2 separate regions of the Homo sapiens genome follow, and region 2 is linked to region 1. Evidence: promoter capture Hi-C in human tissues and cell types (Jung and others, 2019). All regions are on one chromosome and are shown on one strand. The core of a region is centred on a gene start or on the middle of the fragment in contact, and the rest is flanking DNA. Distances in the headings are between cores, read along the strand shown. Region 1 holds the start of MYCBPAP (MYCBP associated protein). Region 2 overlaps LOC101927253 (a long non-coding RNA gene).

Evidence for each region. The method cuts DNA at HindIII sites, captures the fragments that hold promoters and counts their contacts. A contact is called where the count stands out against the background at its distance.
Region 2: a contact is called between a fragment that was not itself captured here and the fragment with the promoter of MYCBPAP in region 1, in 10 of the 25 tissues and cell types used here (H1 embryonic stem cells, IMR-90 fibroblasts, bladder and 7 more).

What each region holds. Positions count from the first base shown.
Region 1 is chr17:50,502,956-50,509,688 of GRCh38, forward strand. It overlaps MYCBPAP (MYCBP associated protein), which reads left to right and starts at 5,484. Exons shown (of 19, transcript NM_032133.6): 1 at 5,484-5,795. The coding sequence starts at 5,720. RefSeq lists a silencer at 5,190-5,479 and enhancers at 5,500-5,559, 5,580-5,709. The HindIII fragment of the contact is 18,604 bases long and covers 1-6,733 here.
Region 2 is chr17:50,624,043-50,630,775 of GRCh38, forward strand. LOC101927253 (a long non-coding RNA gene) reads right to left here. Exons shown (of 2, transcript XR_243718.2): 2 at 2,988-3,298. It overlaps CACNA1G (calcium voltage-gated channel subunit alpha1 G), which reads left to right. Exons shown (of 38, transcript NM_018896.5): 36 at 1-33; 37 at 318-487; 38 at 1,975-3,432. The coding sequence ends at 2,709. Among named protein-coding and RNA genes, the nearest start is that of ABCC3, 7.5 kb to the right of the region's middle. RefSeq lists an enhancer at 1,507-2,279. The HindIII fragment of the contact is 3,018 bases long and covers 3,656-6,673 here.

The sequences.
Region 1 (6,733 bases), core at 4,234-6,733:
TGCCCCACAGATCATGGAAGGCAGCGACCATAGGCTCACTGATGCTCCTGCAGGCTCCCTACACCCATCCATTAGGATGGCCCACATGTGCCAGCCAGGAATGGGGGACACAGCCATGAAGCCGACAGATAGGCTCCTGCACCTCTGGAACTTGTGCTTTAGCGGGGCAGACAGATCCCACAGAAGTGTATGTGTAGGAGTTCTGAGGATGACAAAAAGGATGAGGCAATAGAAGGTGACTGTGACCTTGTGAGACAGGCACTGTCCCCAGTCTATCACTCTATTTTTGTTTCTTTGGGTTTTTTTGAAGCAGGGTCTCGTTCTGTCACTCAGGCTGGAGTGCAGTGGTGCAATCATAGCTTACTGCAGCCTTGATCTCCTGGGCTCCAAGCAAGCCCCCTGCTTCAGCCTCCTGAGTAACTAGGACTCCAGACACACACAAACACCACACCCGGCTAATTTTCAAAATGTTTATTTTTAGTACAGACGGGGTCTTACTATGTGGCCCAGGCTGGTGTCAAGCTCCTGGGCTCAAGTGATCCTTCTGCTTTGACCTTCCAAAGTGCTGGGATTGCATGTGTGAGCCACCATGCCTAGTTCACTGTCCCCACTCTAAAGCAGACAGCCCAAGTGGGGGCAAAGTTGAGAAGCAAACACACACTGTACTCCAAAGCCTCTGAAAATCCCTCCTTGTGTCCTTCCTAAGAAGGTCCCAGAGTCTCTGTGTCATCCCTGAAGCTGAAGTCAGTCCATTCTGGGAGCAGAGTCCAGCTGTGTCCTGTGTTTGGGGCTAAGAAGAATGTGAGATTCCTGCTGAGTGTGAGCTGAGCAAGGTTGTAGTAAGGAGGGCAGTGATGTGATGCATTGTTTAAGGGGTGCAGCTGCCAGATGTGAGTGGGTGAGGGCAGATGTGAGGGGCATCAGCCAGCTATGTGTGGGGGTGGTCAGACCTGGTTGGGGAGGCACAATGGAAACAATAGGGGAGCAGGCCAGGTGGGTATGCGAAAGTGAGACAGAGTGGCAGGATGAACCGGGAGGGGGATCAGATGTGAGGGGCTGGAGAATAGATGACCCCGAGCCTCAGTCTTTAGGAGGGTGGCTGTCCCTGGGAAATGGATGATGCGGTCTGTGGAGGAAATGCGCTTTCTATTTAGGGAGGCTGTTTAGGAGTAGCTGACGACATGCTCAGCACCTGGATGGGTGGAAATAAACAGAGACATGAAGCAATAATTTATGCCGTGTCCTCTGTCAACCTAGCCACCACCTCCTCCTCCCTGGGCTCCAGGAAGTTGCTCAGAGTTGTGGCGCTGGGAGGAGACTGCGGGAGCTATGCTGGTGAAGCGATGCTGTCATCTGAGCTTGTGCTTTACACACACTGGGCTTTTTTTTTTTTTTTTTTTTTTGAGACAGAGTCTTGCTCTGTCACCCTAGGCTGAAGTGCAGTGGCGCAATCACAGCTCACTGCAGCCTCGACCTCCCAGGCTCAAGCAATGCATCCACCTCACTCTCTTGAGTAGCTAGGACCACAAGGGCATGGCACCACATCTGGCTAATTTTTAGAAATTTTTTTGTAGAGACGGGGTCTCACTATGTTGCCCGGGCTGGTCTCAAACTCCTGGGCTCAAGTGATCCTCCTGCCTCAGCCTCCCGAAGTGTTGGGATTATAGGCACAAGCCATCATGCCCAGCCCCCTCCAGGCCTTTGTACCTTCTGTGTCCTCACCTGGAGTACCTGCCCCCTGAACTACCCATTGAACTCTTTATTTAGTGGCCCACCTCCTCTAAGAAGTGCTACCTCCTCTAAGAAGGCCCCCCTCATATCCAGTCTGTGGTTCCTAAATTGCAGCTAATGACTACCCCATGAGCTCACACATTAGAGTTGGAAATCTACTTTCAAATGACCCCACTTTGTGTCTAAAGCACTCTGACCTTCTTCTACCCCCACCCCAGTCGCACATCAGTGAGCTTCAGGGAATCTCTGGAATTGAATACAAAGTCATGTGCAAAATCAGATGTGCAAATGTATGGATAAACAAAATACAGTATACCCATAAACGAAATATTATTCAGCCACGAAAAGGAATGGAGTCACTGATACGTGTTAAGTGAAAAAAAAAAAAACAGACAGAAAAGGCCAAATATTGTATGATTCCATTGATATGAAGTATCAAGAATAGGCAAATCAGTAAAGACAGAAAGGAGCTTAGCGATTGTTAGGGGATGGGGGTCGGGGCTGGGGAATGACTGGTAGAGGGTTTCCTTTGGGGATGATGAAAACATTCTGGATGTAGGTAGTGTAGGTAGTGGTGATGGTGGCACTACATTGTGTGTGTACTAAATGTCACTCAGTTGAATATATTAAAATGGTGACTTTTATGTTATGTGTATTTTACAACAGTTTTAAAAAAAGTCAAATGCACGTTTCTCAGGAGAAGATTCCTAGGTTTGATTGGCTTCTCAAAAGGTGAAGCAGCTCTGATCTGGTCTGGACCCCTTCATGTCATGATGCAGATGGTGATACTGGGACACAGACAGGGGGTGAGACCTGTCCAAGGTCACTCAGGGGCTGGTGGCAGAGCCCAGCCAGGTTGCATGCCTGCCTGACCACATACTCCCCTACCTGCTTCTTCCCTTGTCCTTTGGTCACCAAACCCTCCCGTCACAATCCCCAAGCCTCTGTCCTGCTCCCAAACATGCCACCCACAAGCTGTGTAACTTCCCAAAGTTAAAAGGCCTTCTTCCTGAAACTGGGTGCACGGATTAGAGTTTCATGAGCGTTTGTCTTTTGCTCTAGAGTGGACTCTGAGCTCCTAGAGGGCAAGAGGAAATGTTTCTTATTTTCCTCCATATCTTACAGAGCTTCTGGGACAGCCACGGAGGTGAGCCATTCCTGTCTCCCTTCAAGAAAGAACTTGCCATTCACCCTCAAGGAGGGCAGTTAGCTGACAACTTCTAACAAACATTCTTTGCCCAGAGGACATGCTGGGTTGGCCAAGACTTTGTTAGATCTGCAGCACAGTCTGAGGCTCTCCCAGCCCTTTCCTGCTTCCTCTCCCTCACCGGCCTTGCCACTACCCCCTCTCTCCGCAATAAACCTCTTGCGGTCCTATGTTCATCTCAGTGCTTGCTTCCTGGAGGACCCACATGGCACAGCACCTAGCCTGCTGGATCATAAGTGCTCAGTCGCGAAGTAAACGGAACTGGGGATTCTCTAGAGGGTAGAGGGAAGCCAGAGCCTGGGCCTCGGAGAGCAGGAGAGGGGCTGTCCGTGGAGGATGCCTCAGTCATAAGGAGAGCAAGGTCTAGAGCAGTGTGAAGAAGGGGCCATGGCCCTGGAGCAGGACCCAGCAACGGGCAACACACAGGGAACTCAGGGATTCACCAGCACTGCTGGCATCGTCTCTAGCTCCTCCGCTGTCTGGGGCAGCTCTTGCAAACTCAGAAATGTCCCAGGAGACAGGGTTCAAAGAGCCCTGGCCTTGGACTTTAGAAAACCAGGTTCAATTTGTGCTTCCCGCTAGTCAGGTGACATTACACCCTTCTCTCTGGAGCTCAGTTTCTCCGTTTGTAAAATGGGCTTATAATGTGTCCCCTCCCTTCAACCCCAGCATGATTTTGAGAATTGACTGAGAAGATACTACAGTTTATGGAGGGCACCCTGTTTCGTAGTTTAAATGCACACTCAGGCCAGGTGAGGTGGCTCATGCTTGTAATCCCAACACTTTGAGAGGCCAAGGCGGGAGGATCGCTTAAGCCCACGAGTTCAAGACCAGCCTGAACAACATAGCAAGACCCTGTCTCTACAAAAAATTTAATAATTAGCTGGGTGCAGTGGCACATGCCTGTAGTCCCAGCTACTCGGAAGGCTAAGGCAGCAGGATCATTTAAGCTCAGGAGTTTGAAGCTGCAGTGAGCTATGATTGTGCCACTGCACTCCAACCTGGGCAACAGAGTGAGATACTCGCTAAGAAAAAGAAATACATACATATTCATTTAACCCTGGCAGTGGCCTTGTGAGAGCAGCATTATGACCTCCATTTTATGTATGTATATATGTATGTATGGATGTATGAGATGGGGATCTCACTTTGTTGCCCAGGCTGGAGTACAGTGGTGCAATCAGAGCTCACTGCAGCCTGGACCTCCTGGGCTCAAGCAATCTTCCTGCCTTAGCCTCCAGAGTAGCTAAGACTACAGGTGTGGGCCACCAAAGCCAGCTAATTAAAAAAAAATTTTTTTAGGCTAGGCACGGTGGCTCACGCCTGTAATCCTAGCACTTTGGGAGGCCGAGGCGGGCAGATCACGAGGTCAGGAGTTCGAGACCAGCCTGACCAACTGGTGAAACCCCATCTCTACTAAAAATACAAAACTTAGCCAGGCATGGTGGCACTCGTCTGTAATCCCAGCTACTCAGGAGGCTGAGGCAGGAGAATCGCTTGAACCTGGGAGGCAGAGGTTGCAGTGAGCCGAGATGGCACCACTACACTCCAGCTTGGGCACAGAGCAAGACTCCGTCTCAAAAAAAAAAAAAAAAAAATTTTTTTTTTTTTTTAGAATGGAGTCTCCCTACGTTGCTCAGGTCAATTTTGAACTCCTGGCCTCAACCAATCCTCCTGCCTCAGCCTTCTAAAGCACTAGGATTGTAGGCCTGAACCACTGTGCCCAGCAGAGAAAACCGGCTCTCTAGGTCAAGGCATTGGCTCAAGAACACACAGCTAACAAGCCGACATAGCTGGGATTAGAACCCAATTGTCTGGCTCTAGAACCCCTTCACTATTTGAGGTACAATTTACTGCCTGACTACTAGTGCTAAACTTTGGGTTGGGGGCAGGGCCTGAGGCAGCTCCTGCTCTCATACATTCTGAGAGCCAGTTTGACAATAGGCAACTACACAAAAAACCGAAATAATCCCAGAATGCCTCAGGGCTCCAGGGGAAGGCGAAAAAAGCGGGTGCGTTTATAAACTTAAAATAATCAGAGGCAGCATCTCCAAGGACTGTGAGAATGCCCCAAGTCAGGGCAAAAGTTTTGGCTGGTTTGGGAAGTGATGAAAGGCCAAAGTGGCTGCAGCGAGCGTGGACCCGGGAGGTCTCCAGGCGCGTTGGTGCGAGTTGGGGACGGCAGGCAGGGACACCTAAAACCTACGGTACGCCACGAAGGGGTTTCAGCACGTCCTGAAAGGCCCGATCCCCCCCCAGAACCGCTGTGAGGGGGGCAGAGGGAGGTCCCTCGACAGGATGTGGCCTTAGTCGAGGAAGGCGGGAAGCAGGGGCTGGCACCCCCGACGCCCCACCCGCCCCCCGTGGCCTAGCAGCAGGGCGGGGCGAGGCGGGTCATGCACCCCTACCAGCCAGCCACTCCCACCCAGCCCTCGGCTCCCGCAACTCGCGGGGGTCCTCGCCCGGGTCCCCCGCCCCGCCCCGCCCGGCTGGTGACGTCACGGCGCTCGTCGGCGCCGCCTGTGGCGTCACAGGCCGGGCCCGCAGGGCTTTCTAGGGGTCCGTCGCTCTTGAAGCCGCCGGCGGCGGGCGCGTGCGCGGCCCGATGAAGAAGGAGGTTTCCAAGCCGTCTCCGCCCAAGTTGATCGGTGGATGCGCGCCCCCGCGCGGGGCACCGGTTGCTGTGGACGCAGTGGCGGCCGTTGGCTGGCGGGTGCGGCGCAGCCTCGGTGTCTCTGGGCCGGCGGTGCAGGGCAACGTTTCATGGTGCCGGGCGGCACCATGAAGTCTCTAAAGAAGGATTCCCGCCTCAGAATAACTCCGACCAGATTATTAGAGGCCTCAGAGAATGTCAAAGGTTGGCGCTGGCTGCCTTGGGCGCTCGGGAGAACCCGAGAGGGGAAGCGGTCCCCGGAAAGAGTTCAGGACACGGGGCCTGGAGGATGGGGATGGCACCAGGGATGGAGGAAAGATCACGGGGAAGTGGGGTACTGGGCATAGGACCCTTAGGGATGGGGGGCAAGGCAGGAAGAGCCTACAGCGCACTGGGCCTTGGGGATGGGGACATAGGAAGTGGGAGACTGACAGAGGGGCCTCAGGGACCACTGGCTGGGGAGATGGCCTTGCGCTACCTCTAACCACATCTTAGGGTGGCATGCAGGAGGCAGGATCCCCGGACTGGATGAAGTGCAGAAGAGCCAGGAAAGAGTTTAAGGGTAGAAGGGCCAGGAATTGGGGTCCTTGGGAAGAGGAAAGAATGAAGTGTTGAAACCAGCCACCTTGATGGGATTATTTGGTAGAGGAGGGTCGGGGAGCGGGGCAGGCGTCACTTAGGATTCCTGCTGGAAAAACCCAGAAGAAAGGCCTTGCTTGGCTAGTTCTCTTTTTGACTGCCTTTTCCTACCACGTGCACTTTCCAGCTGGATGACACTTATCCAGCTCCTTTAGCCTGGAAAGAATCGCTAGATATGACTGCTTCCTACCCTCTACAGCTTTCTTCTGGTTGCACCTGGGAGAGCCACAGGGCGTCTGATAGCGGACTGACTTCCATGGACATGTTCTCACTTGCAACCCACCCCCTTTTGATCTTTTTTGGCTGTTTCCATTTATTTATTTTTAAATTTAATTTTTAGCTTTTTTTTTCTGTGTGTGTGTGTGTGTGTGTGTGTGTGTGTGTGTGTGTTTGTAAACAGGGCTCTCGCTGTGTTGCCCCAGCTAGTGTCAAATTCTTGGCCTCAAGCGATCCTCCTGCCTCGGCCTCACAGACTGCTAGGATTCCAGGCATGGACCACTGCG
Region 2 (6,733 bases), core at 3,915-6,414, 120 kb after region 1:
ACAGGGGCTGGGGGCTCCCCAAAGCTCAGTCAGGTACCAGGGCTAGAGCAGGCCAATTTGGCTCACACAGGGAGATTCCATCCTGGCCTAAGCCAGTCCTGATCTGAGGGGATGGGGAACTGAGGCAGCCAAAGAGGTATCTCTGACCTCAGGGGAGCCTCCAGCCTGGGGGAATGGCTTTGAGTCCAGGGGGTAAGGGTAGAGGCCCTGATGAGGGGGAGAGAGTGGAAGGGAGGGCTCAGGTGAGAACCTGCTCCCCTGAACCCTCCAGCTCCATTCTCTCCCCCCACCCCTCCCCCGCTTCCCTCCCTCCACAGGCTCCGTCTTGTCCGTTCACTCCCAGCCAGCAGATACCAGCTACATCCTGCAGCTTCCCAAAGATGCACCTCATCTGCTCCAGCCCCACAGCGCCCCAACCTGGGGCACCATCCCCAAACTGCCCCCACCAGGACGCTCCCCTTTGGCTCAGAGGCCACTCAGGCGCCAGGTGAGCAGATGTGGAAAGGCAGGCACAGGCCTGGGGGCTGGACCCTCTGCTGCTGGTGATGACCTGTGTTGACACTTTCATTCTTCCAGCAAATATTTATTGTGTGCCAGTGATGTGCCAGGCTCAGTTGCAGATACCAGGGACACAGTACTGGGCAAAGCAGAAGTGGTCTGTGCCTTCTTGAAATTTGCACCCAGTTCCTTGTTCCACTGAGGAGGCCTGGAGACCAGAAGGGGTAGTGCTTGCCCAGGGTCATGCCTATCTGGTCGGAGGTAGAACCCCAGTCTCTGGTCTTTCCTTCCTCACCAACCAGAGCTGCCTCCCAATTCTTCTCCCCACTTTGGACTGAGCTATGGGGCACAAGGCAGGTTTTAAGTGTCTTCACTTTTGGCCAAGCCTAGGGCCCACCTTCCAGAGCCCAGATTCTTTTTTTTTTTTTTTTTTTTGAGTTTCGCTCTTGTTGCCCAGGCTGGAGTGCAATGGCACAATCTTGGCTCCCCGCAACCTCCGCCTCCTGGGTTCAAGTGATTCTCCTGCATCAGCCTCCCGAGTAGCTGGGATTACAGACATGCGCCACCATGCCTGGATAATTTTGTATTTTTAGTAGAGATGGGGTTTCTCCATGTTGGTCAGGCTGAGCTCGAGCTCCCAACCTCAGATGATCTGGCCGCCTCGGCCACCCAAAGTGCCGGGATTACAGGCGTGAGCCACCGCGCCCGGCCCCAGAGCCCACCTGTGATAAGGCCACAGCCCATGCCATGTGTGTGTCCTGAGGCATGAGCGTGGACACATGAGAATCTCAATCCCACATGCTTGGGGGAGCAGGCACAGTCCTTATTCATTCTGCAAATAGTCACTAAGCAGCCTCTGTGTGCCAGGCACTGGCGACACAGCCCCTGCCCCCTGAAGCTCACAGTCTAATAGTGGAGACATGCCTGCCATCAGATCATTGCAGCCTCAGCTCACAGCTGCCAGACACCTATGTGTGGAGGGCAGCAGGGACACAGAAGGGGAAGGGGTCGGTTTTACTTGGGGACAGAGACTGTCACACACTGTGTCACAGAGAACCTGAGTCCGTAAAATCGAGGGATTCTTGCCAATCAGGAAGGGTATTCAGAGCCAAAGGGGAAGTCTAGGCAGAGGCGGGGAGGCGTGAAGGAGCCAGCTCAGTGAGCAGAGATGGCCTGGCTTCTCTCATATCCCAGGAGGCAGGGGCTGCAGAGAGAGCGATTCTTGCAGGCTTAGGGGAGACCAGAGCATGGGGGAGGGAAGACAGGGTTTAGTGGGGAGAGAGGAGGCATGGTGGACAACAGAGGTCAGGCTGCAATGACCCCTATCTACTAGTAAGAGCGGCTACCAGGACCTCTGCTTAGGATAGTCCTGCTGTGCCTGGTGGTGGTGGGCAGGGGGCACAGCCAGCTTGACAGGAGGGCTAGTCCATGCTGGAGAGGAGACTGCTGGGCTGAGCCCTCCCCCACCCCATATAGGCAGCAATAAGGACTGACTCCTTGGACGTTCAGGGTCTGGGCAGCCGGGAAGACCTGCTGGCAGAGGTGAGTGGGCCCTCCCCGCCCCTGGCCCGGGCCTACTCTTTCTGGGGCCAGTCAAGTACCCAGGCACAGCAGCACTCCCGCAGCCACAGCAAGATCTCCAAGCACATGACCCCGCCAGCCCCTTGCCCAGGCCCAGAACCCAACTGGGGCAAGGGCCCTCCAGAGACCAGAAGCAGCTTAGAGTTGGACACGGAGCTGAGCTGGATTTCAGGAGACCTCCTGCCCCCTGGCGGCCAGGAGGAGCCCCCATCCCCACGGGACCTGAAGAAGTGCTACAGCGTGGAGGCCCAGAGCTGCCAGCGCCGGCCTACGTCCTGGCTGGATGAGCAGAGGAGACACTCTATCGCCGTCAGCTGCCTGGACAGCGGCTCCCAACCCCACCTGGGCACAGACCCCTCTAACCTTGGGGGCCAGCCTCTTGGGGGGCCTGGGAGCCGGCCCAAGAAAAAACTCAGCCCGCCTAGTATCACCATAGACCCCCCCGAGAGCCAAGGTCCTCGGACCCCGCCCAGCCCTGGTATCTGCCTCCGGAGGAGGGCTCCGTCCAGCGACTCCAAGGATCCCTTGGCCTCTGGCCCCCCTGACAGCATGGCTGCCTCGCCCTCCCCAAAGAAAGATGTGCTGAGTCTCTCCGGTTTATCCTCTGACCCAGCAGACCTGGACCCCTGAGTCCTGCCCCACTTTCCCACTCACCTTTCTCCACTGGGTGCCAAGTCCTAGCTCCTCCTCCTGGGCTATATTCCTGACAAAAGTTCCATATAGACACCAAGGAGGCGGAGGCGCTCCTCCCTGCCTCAGTGGCTCTGGGTACCTGCAAGCAGAACTTCCAAAGAGAGTTAAAAGCAGCAGCCCCGGCAACTCTGGCTCCAGGCAGAAGGAGAGGCCCGGTGCAGCTGAGGTTCCCGACACCAGAAGCTGTTGGGAGAAAGCAATACGTTTGTGCAGAATCTCTATGTATATTCTATTTTATTAAATTAATTGAATCTAGTATATGCGGGATGTACGACATTTTGTGACTGAAGAGACTTGTTTCCTTCTACTTTTATGTGTCTCAGAATATTTTTGAGGCGAAGGCGTCTGTCTCTTGGCTATTTTAACCTAAAATAACAGTCTAGTTATATTCCCTCTTCTTGCAAAGCACAAGCTGGGACCGCGAGCACATTGCAGCCCCAACGGTGGCCCATCTTCAGCGGAGAGCGAGAACCATTTTGGAAACTGTAATGTAACTTATTTTTTCCTTTAACCTCGTCATCATTTTCTGTAGGGAAAAAAAAAAGAAAAAGAAAAAATGAGATTTTACAAGTGAAATGGAACCTTTTTATATATACATACATACATATCTATCTATCTATCTATATATATATAAAATAAAGTAATTTTCCTAAATAAAAAGCTAATCACGGTCCAGAGTAAAAGCAAAAGGGATGGAGAGTTAGGCACGTCCAGATGGCATTGATGAGAGAGAGATCCTGGAGATGGGGAGTGGGCGGCGGGGAGGGAAGCTTCAGGGCTGCCTCTTTGTGTGTGTATGAGTGTGTATGTGTTTGTGTATATGAGTGCGTGTGTGTATATGAGTGTGAGAGTGTGTGTGTCTGAGAGTGAGAGAACCTGAACCCCTTGCTGTGGAAGGCTGCACCTCTAGCCTGCCCTCCCCAGCCGTGAAGGAGAGGAGGAGCCCCTCCGCCTGGTGCAGGCTGGGGAGGCAGGGTCTCTTCTGCTGCTATCAAAGCTTTACAGCTTCCTCTAGCTAGGCAGCTCAGTGAATGGGAGTAATTCCAGATTAACTCTTATTTCTGCTGACAGCTATCAGCCGCACATTGAAAGCTGGAAATTGGCATAATGAAGCTGTTTTGGTTAATGGGGCCGACTGAGGCTGGGGGAGGTTGCCTCAGAGGCTGCAGATCTGGATCTGTGGGTTGGTGGGGGAGGGGGGAAGTGTTTCTGGGTTTTCCTTCCTGAAGCTTCAGCACGGATTTGCCACACTTCTGGCTGGATGCGTGACCTGAGCTGTCTGGACTTCAGCCTCCTGCCTTGGGGGCGGGCTTAGCTGACTGGCATTACAGGCACTGTCCGATGGGGACCTCGTCCACCTGCCCGCAATGGAATTAAACCGTGTCAACGGAGTGGGCTGTGCTTCCTGAGGATGAGAGTCCAGGGCTGGGCGTCCAGAGGCAACCTCCTGGTGGAGGTGGTAGGGTCAGAGGCCAGGTGCTGAGTGGGGAGCTGGCCCCCTGGGCGGTGATGAGCGAGCGCTCAAGATGTTTACATGCACTGCTGCTGCTGCCTGCCTAGCGGGAGCCAGTGGAGGAGGGAGGTGTGAAGGTGGCCAGGGGCAGGCAGACAGGAAGAGGGGGAGTGGCGTGGCCCAGGCCACCTGTCTGGTGCTACTGCAGACAATATTCTCTTGTCTGAAATCTTGGTGCCAAGAGGTGGTGACCATGGGTCCAGCCAGCCTGTCACCTAGCCACCTCCCAAACATCTGTCCCAATCCCACTCCCTTGAACAGCCCCCTCCCCTCGCCCCCAGGGCCTTCAAACCCCAGGATTGGATTGGGTTTTTGAAACCTCAGTGGCAACGCTCGCTCACAAACCGTCTGATCCGGTCAACTGGGAGCTGGGGGCACCAGGCTGCCGGGCGAGTGGACCTGGAGGCGTTGTCCAGCATTGTTTTCTAAGCTGGGTGAGAGCTTTTCTCATTGCTCTTTTGGACAGAACTCATACCGCTCCTTGAAGCCAAAGCCTGGTTTTATCCTTTTAGGGTGTGCAATAATGTCAAACTTTTTCCTCTGGCCTCCTTGGGTGGGGAGAGGGAGTGCTTGTAGGAGCTGCCATTTAAGATAAAAAAAGCAAAGCTGTACAAAATTCCTAGAGTTCTGTCACCTGGATCTGCAGACTAAGCTTTTATATTTTTGTAGAATTCTATAGCTGTCTATTCCCTAATGACGTTGGAGGGTATGGGGAGGGGGTTCTGGGATCTTTCATTCTCCTAGTGGTTAGAAGATTCTGGGTCAAGGTGAAGCCAGAGAGCTGGACTCCTACCCCTCCCCACTCTTCCAGCACCCCCTCTCCCCGCTCCCGACCACCAGCCCAGCAGCACTAGAGTACTGGAGAGTTGCTTAGGTTGAGTCTTAGCATGCCTGGTTCTTTGTGCGTTCCTCTTCCCCTGGCCTCCTCTTCCCAGTAGGGACCAAGGAATTTGGGGTGAACTTACTATGCTTTTGGGTTGCTCTGTAGAGATCTGCAGGGACCAGCCCAGTGAAAACAAAAAGGTTCCCCTATTCCCTCCCCAGCAGCCCTCTCTGTGGCCTGGAGGGTTTCTCTGGAAGAGGGCAGTGCCTGGAGGGGAGCCTCTGGATAGTGATGTGGAAATATTAACAACAGAGTCAAAGCGGGTATTTTGGGGTAGTCGGGGAGAAAACTGTGACCTCTCCCCCCAATGATGTAAAATCTTTATCAATGATGGAAACTGTTGTGTCTCATTAAAAGGGTTTTGAGGTGGAAAAGCAGCTGCCGCTGGATCTTAATAATAATATCAAACTGCTAACCTCATGCTGCTTGTCTGGGTGGTTATTTGATGCTGCTCTGGGATACATAAGGGGTGGGGGTAGGGGGTGGAGAAAATGAAGGAGGCTGGGATGGGGAGTGGATGGTGGGGGCAGCAGGTCTTGGATGAGGACTCCAGGGGCAGAATGGAACTGGCTAGGGGCTTCAGGGATGTGGGGGCTTTTAGAATTAGGAATATCTACCCTGGTGCCTTTGTCCTCAGCCTTCCCCTTCGGGGTTCAGAAGAAATTGTGACAGCGGCTGTAGGCCCCCACCTCAAGCTTGGCTGTTTCTGCTTCCTCCACCCCCAAGACTCCAGGAAAAGGTCTGTGTGGGGGTGGGGACTGGGAAGAGGAGTGAGCTGAGCTGGGGATAAAAACAAATCTGAGGCTCATATGCAGTCTCTCACTCCTCAACACACCCTAGCAAGGGAAGTCTGATTGCTATTTCTCCATGAGGCAGCGGGGTTCAGAGAGGTTAAGTGAATTGCCCGTGGTCACACAGCCAGGAGATGGCAGAGCTGAGATTTGACCCTACGTCTGGCCAACCTCCAGCCCACACTACTCCTGTCTCTTCTCAGTGTGGAGGAAATGGGGCACGATGGGAAGAATCCTGCTCAAAAAATGACTTGCTGGTGGGCGCTTTTCCAAAGTAGTCACATTCACGTTCATACAAATATGCACACGTGTTCCCCGCATGGCAAACTCAGAGGCTTAGAGAGGCCCCCAGCCTCCCACCTGGTGGGCCACCAGCTTTTGGCCATAGGGAATGGTGGTGAGAGGAGTTCAATCACAGGAGAAGGCATCCCTCAGCTCCAGGCGCTTGTCCAAGAGCTGGCCAAGGGTAGCTCTGCAATCACTGTGGGTTCCCAGGCTCCACCCTTCCGCAGCATAACGCTGCCCTTGAACCCCATGGTACCTGTTCTTTTCCCCATCCCGCCTTCTTCTCTCTTCCTCTCCTCTAACCCTGCCCTACCTAAACCTCACCCACTTTCCAAACAGCTTTCACTCCTATCTCCACCCTAGTCCCCACCTGCCACAGCCTGGTGCCCCATGGCCTATTTTCTCTTCCCTTGGGCCAGCTGAGCAGCCCGTGGAGTGGGGCTGGCAACAGCAGTGCAATGAGGGCATCAGACACCAGGTGGCGGCACA